2 separate regions of the Homo sapiens genome follow, and region 1 is linked to region 2. The links are contacts of gene promoters, found by promoter capture Hi-C in human tissues and cell types (Jung and others, 2019). All regions are on one chromosome and are shown on one strand. Each heading gives the region's core, a stretch centred on a gene start or on the middle of the fragment in contact. The rest is flanking DNA. Distances are from core to core; before and after follow the strand shown. Region 1 overlaps SLC9A9 (solute carrier family 9 member A9). Region 2 holds the start of CHST2 (carbohydrate sulfotransferase 2).

The links. The method cuts DNA at HindIII sites, captures the fragments that hold promoters and counts their contacts. A contact is called where the count stands out against the background at its distance.
Region 1: a fragment that was not itself captured here is called in contact with the fragment with the promoter of CHST2 in region 2 in 1 of the 25 tissues and cell types used here (spleen).

Annotation. Positions count from the first base shown.
Region 1 is chr3:143,570,086-143,573,230 of GRCh38, forward strand. All of the region lies in intron 8 of SLC9A9 (solute carrier family 9 member A9), which reads right to left. The region is part of intron 2 of LOC124906294 (a long non-coding RNA gene); the gene reads left to right. Among named protein-coding and RNA genes, the nearest start is that of SLC9A9-AS1, 230 kb to the left of the region's middle. The HindIII fragment of the contact is 5,590 bases long and covers 1-3,145 here.
Region 2 is chr3:143,117,966-143,121,020 of GRCh38, forward strand. It overlaps CHST2 (carbohydrate sulfotransferase 2), which reads left to right and starts at 1,806. Exons shown (of 2, transcript NM_004267.5): 1 at 1,806-2,576; 2 at 2,679-3,055. The coding sequence starts at 2,852. RefSeq lists enhancers at 862-1,363, 1,039-1,168, 1,364-1,863, 2,149-2,198, 2,522-3,055 and silencers at 1,629-1,918, 2,409-2,458, 2,489-2,538, 2,589-2,668, 2,729-2,928 and 1 more. The HindIII fragment of the contact is 8,898 bases long and covers 1-3,055 here.

The DNA.
Region 1 (3,145 bases), core at 519-3,018, 450 kb after region 2:
ATGCATCATTGGTCCTAGCCAATTTTCTCCATAGATAAAGAGTAACTGAACTACAATGTGACAAAGATAAGCATCTCAACACGAAAACAGTTAACAACAACAAAAAAGTAACAAAGGGCATAAACTGGTAGTTCACCAAAGAAGAAATACAAACAGCCAATGACCTGTAATTAAAAAAGCTTCTCCTTCATAAAAATATAATAAATGTAAACCGGAAGAAAATGGAACTTGATTATCAAATTAGCAGTGATTAATAAGATTTGGGGTGGTGAAGACGTGAGTGAATGAGCTTGCTTTCAGATTGCTGGTGGGAGTGCAAGGGGATACAAATTTTCTAAAAGACAATTTGGACAAATTTGTCCAAAAATTTAAATTTTAGTCTTTTTATTAAACCAGACATTTTATTTTCAGGCAGTTACATAAATAAAAATTTATATCTCTAGCTATACAGATTATCATTGCAGTAATAATAAGAATATTAAAACCTGTAAATAATCAAAAGGTTGTTACAATAAATTATGGCAAGTTCATATGATGGAGTATTCAATGTTTTGGAAAACATTCACTATAAATTTTTTAATGCTCCATTCATGGCATTTTTTTCATTATAAATTGTTGAATGAAAAAAGCAAGTTACTTAAGAAATATATAGATATATGCATGCACGAGTATATTTAGGTAGGCATATTTAAGTGTATATGTGTGTGTATAATTATATATATATAGTTAGCTTGACACAGCCAAATATTAACAATTGTTATTAACATGCAATAAGAATATAAGTGATTCTAAATTTATTTCCTTCTGTAAATCTGCATTTTCTAAATTTTCTACAGTGAGTATGGATTACCTTGGGTGTACGAAAAAAATAAAATATATTTAAAAACAGATGTGCTTTGTTTAAAGTAGCAGAACATTTTTTTTCAAATAGAATTGTATGTGATATCCCAATTTCTGAAACCAATAAAAGGGGTGAAGTATGGGTAGGCGGCCGAGAGCCCTGCTCACTAGACGGATGTTCTTGAGGGCGCACTTTGAAAGGTCAGGGCCTGGGGAATTCTGCTGAGAAATCATTCCATGTTAATACCATCTCTAGGAGCTACATTAAGTGTTGTTAGTGAACCCATACAAGGCTCCACGATTGCTGGTTACCTCTGTAGTTACTCATAAACTATTTAATAGCTCTTTCCATTTTAGTTTACTGTATTCATTGTTGTCTATTCATGCAGAAATCATTTTTTTAAGTTTTCTAGATTTTTAGATTTGTATCATATTAGTTTACCTGTGCATTAGAACTAAAATGATTTTATTATTACATGGAAATAATTACAGAATTATAATTTGAGGCCACACCCTCAGGTTTTATTGAAAGTTGATATGAGAAATGACCATATGAAGAATGAACCTCCATTTTCCCTAAAATTATTATTAAATACACTGTCCATTCTGGTGTTCAAAGGCCCTTATATATAGATGCATGTGATAAATTCCCCTAAAATTTTAGTATGAAAAATAAAGTTTGCCCACTTTGATAAGCATGACTTAAAAAAAAATAATGCTGTATTATTCCTGTATAACTCATCATGTTCCCCTTTTGGCTTTGACTGCCAGAAAGCTCAGAGCTATATTTATTGCCAAACCACAGCAATGAACAGTGGCCTAATTTTGCAGAAAAATTCTGTCCCAGAGCACTTGAGTGTTTACCCTCAACTAAATGGTCCTGTGATGTGCATGGCTTATGTTATGAGTTGTCACAAATCCAATCTGGAAATAGGCAAGGATTAAATAATAAACAAACAAACACATAAGTAATTTGGACTAAGCGGTCTTGGTCTTTGGCAATAGAAAATGCTCACACCTAGAATTTGGTTTGTAGCAAATGTCTGTTAGGCACATTGCCTAAATCTAGTGTACTACTCGGGGGTGAGTCTGCCCCTCGGTACAGCCATGGACACTTGGATCTTTCTGTTACTGGGGTTCACACCCATATTCACCCATCCCATGATGCTGGCTCCTTAGAAGGTGGTCTGTATGGCAGCTCAGTAAGGATATCAGGTTGAAAGGGTGTGAAAGAGCAAGGATCAAGCAAACTAGCAATTTGTTCAGTTTCCCATGGATCTTAGCCTTTAATGTAGTTGATAGAAGAAGATCTTGCTGAAATGGACAAGGAAATAGACAATTTTTACACAAATTGACAATTCTTAGGCAATGGTGTGTGTGTGTGTGTGTGTGTGTGTGCGCGTGTGTTTATTATAACATCCAACAGTAGATTAAAAAATATTAGGTGAGTTAAGATACTTCCTTACCTTTCTAGAAGGTCAAATATTTTTTCTTATTATTAATACTACTTGGATCATTTTATAAGTTAAACTTGAATAGAATACAGAATGTGGAAGAAAGGGAACTAATGTTTTTTGAATGACTGTGATGTAAATGATTTGCCTACATTATTTCACTGAAGGGACATGGCTACTGTTTTCTTCTGAAATGCATAAGCTTTCCAGCTACCTCCTTAATAAAGTGGCAATGCACTAAAATAACAGAATTTGTATTGAAATAATTTAGATACAAAGGCCTGGTAGGGTGGAATCCAGTAATGTAGTCTTGATTATAGTGTCATAAGAACTGGTGGGTGGCTTTCTGTATTGGCAGCAAACACCCTTGAAGCCAACGGGAATAGCTTGGACTGTGTGGTTCTGCAGTAAGTTGGGCCAGCTGATTAAAGCAATAGGTTCTCATTACTAAAAAGATTTGCCATGGCATTCACAGGAGAGCCAAGACCAGCCAAGGAGCAACTGAACCAGGCAGTTGCCTGGGGCTCCAACTACTTCCTTCCTACCTACCCTTAGAGGTCCGCTTGATGTTTCACAGATGGAGTTTCATTTGAGGTAGAAATGCGTGGTCCCCCAGAACCCAGGCTCTAAAATTGAATTTCCTGGTTTTAAATCCCAGCTCCATCACTTACTGTTGGCTGAGTAAACTGGGCATAGTCTTTTACTTTTGAATCTTTCTATCGATTAATGAAATCACCTATGAAAGACAGCTGGCCAGCATCTGGCTCATGGTACACCCTCAATATATGTCAACTTTTATTATTATTTATTATTTAGACTTAAAGTATCACCTATTAAAATGCAAACACCGA
Region 2 (3,055 bases), core at 556-3,055:
TTATTTTTCTTGGAATCATGTTGAATATTAAAATTGAGATTTACTTTCCTCCCCAATTCCCTCTCTCTCCCATCAGTCTTTTCATGCACCAATGTCATTTTAGTTTTCGTGGTAAAAGAGGTGGTGAAAAAGGGGCAGGGGCATTTGAGAGAGTAGGCGAAGGGAGGCTGGGGATTCCAGAAAAGGAAAAGATGGGGAGTCGCTCAATTAAACTCTACCACCTTCATCTGTTAACAGGGATTCTTGCCTGTCTCGACCCACTTCCAGAGGCAATGCCATATTATTTGAGAAAGCTGGATATAAAATTTGAGCTCTGCTGTCCTTGTCCCAATCCCCCTCCCCAGGAGAAAAAATAAGCTGAACTGTACTCGTGACATTATGGGTTTTTCTGGAAAACAAGGATAAATAAGTTTTTTGAACATTTTTCTCCCCTGAAACTAAATCCGTAAGAGAGTTAAAAACCCGTGGAAAGCGAGTTAAGTCACTTTTCAAGTCTTTGTACTCAGGGGATTCTGTAAGACTCATGGAAGAATAATGGCGCAAACAGCAATATTTTAATGTTAGAACGGTCCTCTGAAAAGTCTGCCCGAAACGCTACAAAGATAATTGTGCAGTAACTTCTAAAAACTCTACTGGGACAGGAGGCAACAAAACTCCGGATCAGCGAGAGCTCTGTTTATCCGAGGGTGCTGAGCCTCAGGCCCCACGGAGATTCCCTTTTCGGCACTTGGAGGCCTGAACTCAGGTCTAACCTTTCGTGTGCGCGCTCTGATACTCAACCACCGTTCAGTCTCCGGAGGCTGTTACAACTGTCCCCATTCTACAGATGAAGTTGAGGCTACAGCTTAGTGTTCTTGGGGAGGGAGGGAGTTGGGGGGAGAGAGAGACGCTTTTCCTCATAACCTTAAACAAAAGTACTTAAACCTAAAGCAACTGAAAAATGATTTTCTTTCAACAACGGTGTTTCCTTTGGGGTCAAGTTCTTTGATCTCATCTACAAAACCAAGAAGCGGGACAAGTATTTTTCTGCAAATTAGAACGGGGCGTTCCCCTCCCCCATCACCCCAATTCCAGAGGACGTCAATCACAGTGGACGCAGCACCGCGAGCGGAAATGCGGAGAGCATCGGGGCTCCGCATGTGGGGCACAATGAAACAAGAGCAGCCCCGGCCAGAGGTCCAGTAAAGCGGAAAGACGGTCCCGCCCGCACACCCCTCCGGAAAACTGAAGCGTCTCCTCTGACCCCCAAGGTCAGAAAGATTTATTACTTCCTTCGAGAGGGCGCAGCCACAGACCCACTAGAGAGGGCGGGCAGGGTGTCGGAAGCCAGAGAACGGCGCTCCGCGTCCTCCCACCGCTCCAGGGCGCAGAGGTGTCCTCAGTGCCCGGAGAGGTTGGCAGTGTCGGCCCCGAGGGAAGCGTGGAGCGGACGGCCGACAGGGGATTTCTGCCCAAACTTCATCACCAACTCTTTCTGAGAGCAAAAACATGGGGCCGAGTCCGGCAGCTGCACGCAGAATCCAACTCTCTGGCAGCTCTCGGCACCGACGAGCTCCAGATCCCGCGTTCGCATCCCGGCGCTTTGCGCGCAGAGCTAAGCCTTCGGACCCGTGGACTGCAGCCCCCGCGCGTCGCGGTAAAGCGGGTCGCGTCTCCAGCCCCCGAGGCGCAGCGACGGTGGGAGCCGGCTCGGCGTTGGGGGCGGGGGCGGGGCCGGCGAAGGGGGAGGGCTGCGCGGCGGAGGGGAGGAGCCGCGGCGACAGACGGCGGCGCGCACCAACCGGGCGCCGGCTGGCAGGAGCCGCGCAGAGGCTGGTCCGAGCGCGTTGCGGGCGCCCGGCGTAAGGGGAGTCGGGTAGCAGCATCCTCCTGGGCGCCGCTTTCGCGCGGCGGCGGCGGCTGCGGCGGGGTCTTTCTTTGCTTAAATACCTCGTTGGCCAGAAGCGCTGGTACCGGGGGCGGGTTGGGTCGGGTCGGGCAGTGCTGCACACCTGGGTTTCCTTGCCTAGAGCTGTGTGTTCGGGGTCCTTTGGTCCAGTCGGAGGCTGCGGAGCGGCGGGGGTTGCCTGCGCTGTCCGCCCGGGCATCCTCCCGGTGATGGAAGCAGCCGCCGCCGCCGCTGCGGGGTCGCGCTGTGCCCCATCCACCGCTGCCAGAGAGGTGGGAAAATTCGCCGCACGGAGGCCGAAAGCGAGAGGGGCTGCGCCGCTATGCCGGGAGCTGAGTCCCATATAAGCCGCCCCCAGCCATCGCCCCCAGCCGGCTTCGTTCCCCTGAGCGAGACAGGAAGCTGCGGTCCCGAGAAAGCGGAGGAGACGTCGCTGGAGCCGGGAGGCGCCGGGTTCGGCGGAGCGCGGAGCGGGGCTCTGGGCCGCGTGAAAGTTTTTCTTCCCGAGCCGCAGGGCGCCCGCTGCCCGGAAACTGCCCAGGGATAAGTCGGCCGACTCCCCAGACCCCTCGAAGGTGCGGGGACCCCCAGCGGAAGCGAGAGGGAGCGAAATCGAGGAACGAGTGACAGCCGGACAGTCCGCCGGGCGGTGATCCGGGGCCGCTCCCGGGCGCGCCCTCGGCTCCAGGTGAGCGGAGGAACCGGGCAGAACCGAGGGTGGGCGTTACTTAGGAGGAGGAGGCTGGGAGGGAGATTGGGGCGCATCCGCTCACTCCGCTTCCCCTCGCAGGTCCTACCCGGAGCCGCTGCCATGGGAGAGCCAGCCTTGGGCGCTGGGGACCAGCCGCCGCGCCCGCCTCGGAGTCGCGGCCCGAGTCCCGGCGCCAGCAGCCAGCCCGCTGCGTCCCCTTCCCGGGCTGCAGGGCTGCCTCCGCCGCGCCGCCGGCCCGGATTGTGCCTGTGATGAGCCGCAGCCCGCAGCGAGCTCTGCCCCCGGGCGCGCTCCCTCGGCTGCTCCAGGCTGCGCCTGCAGCCGCGCCGCGTGCCCTGCTCCCGCAGTGGCCCCGGCGCCCAGGACGCCGCTGGCCCGCGTCCCCTCTCGGAATGAAGGTGTTCCGTAGGAAGGCGCTGGTGTTGTGCGCGGGCTATGCACTGCTGCTGGTGCTC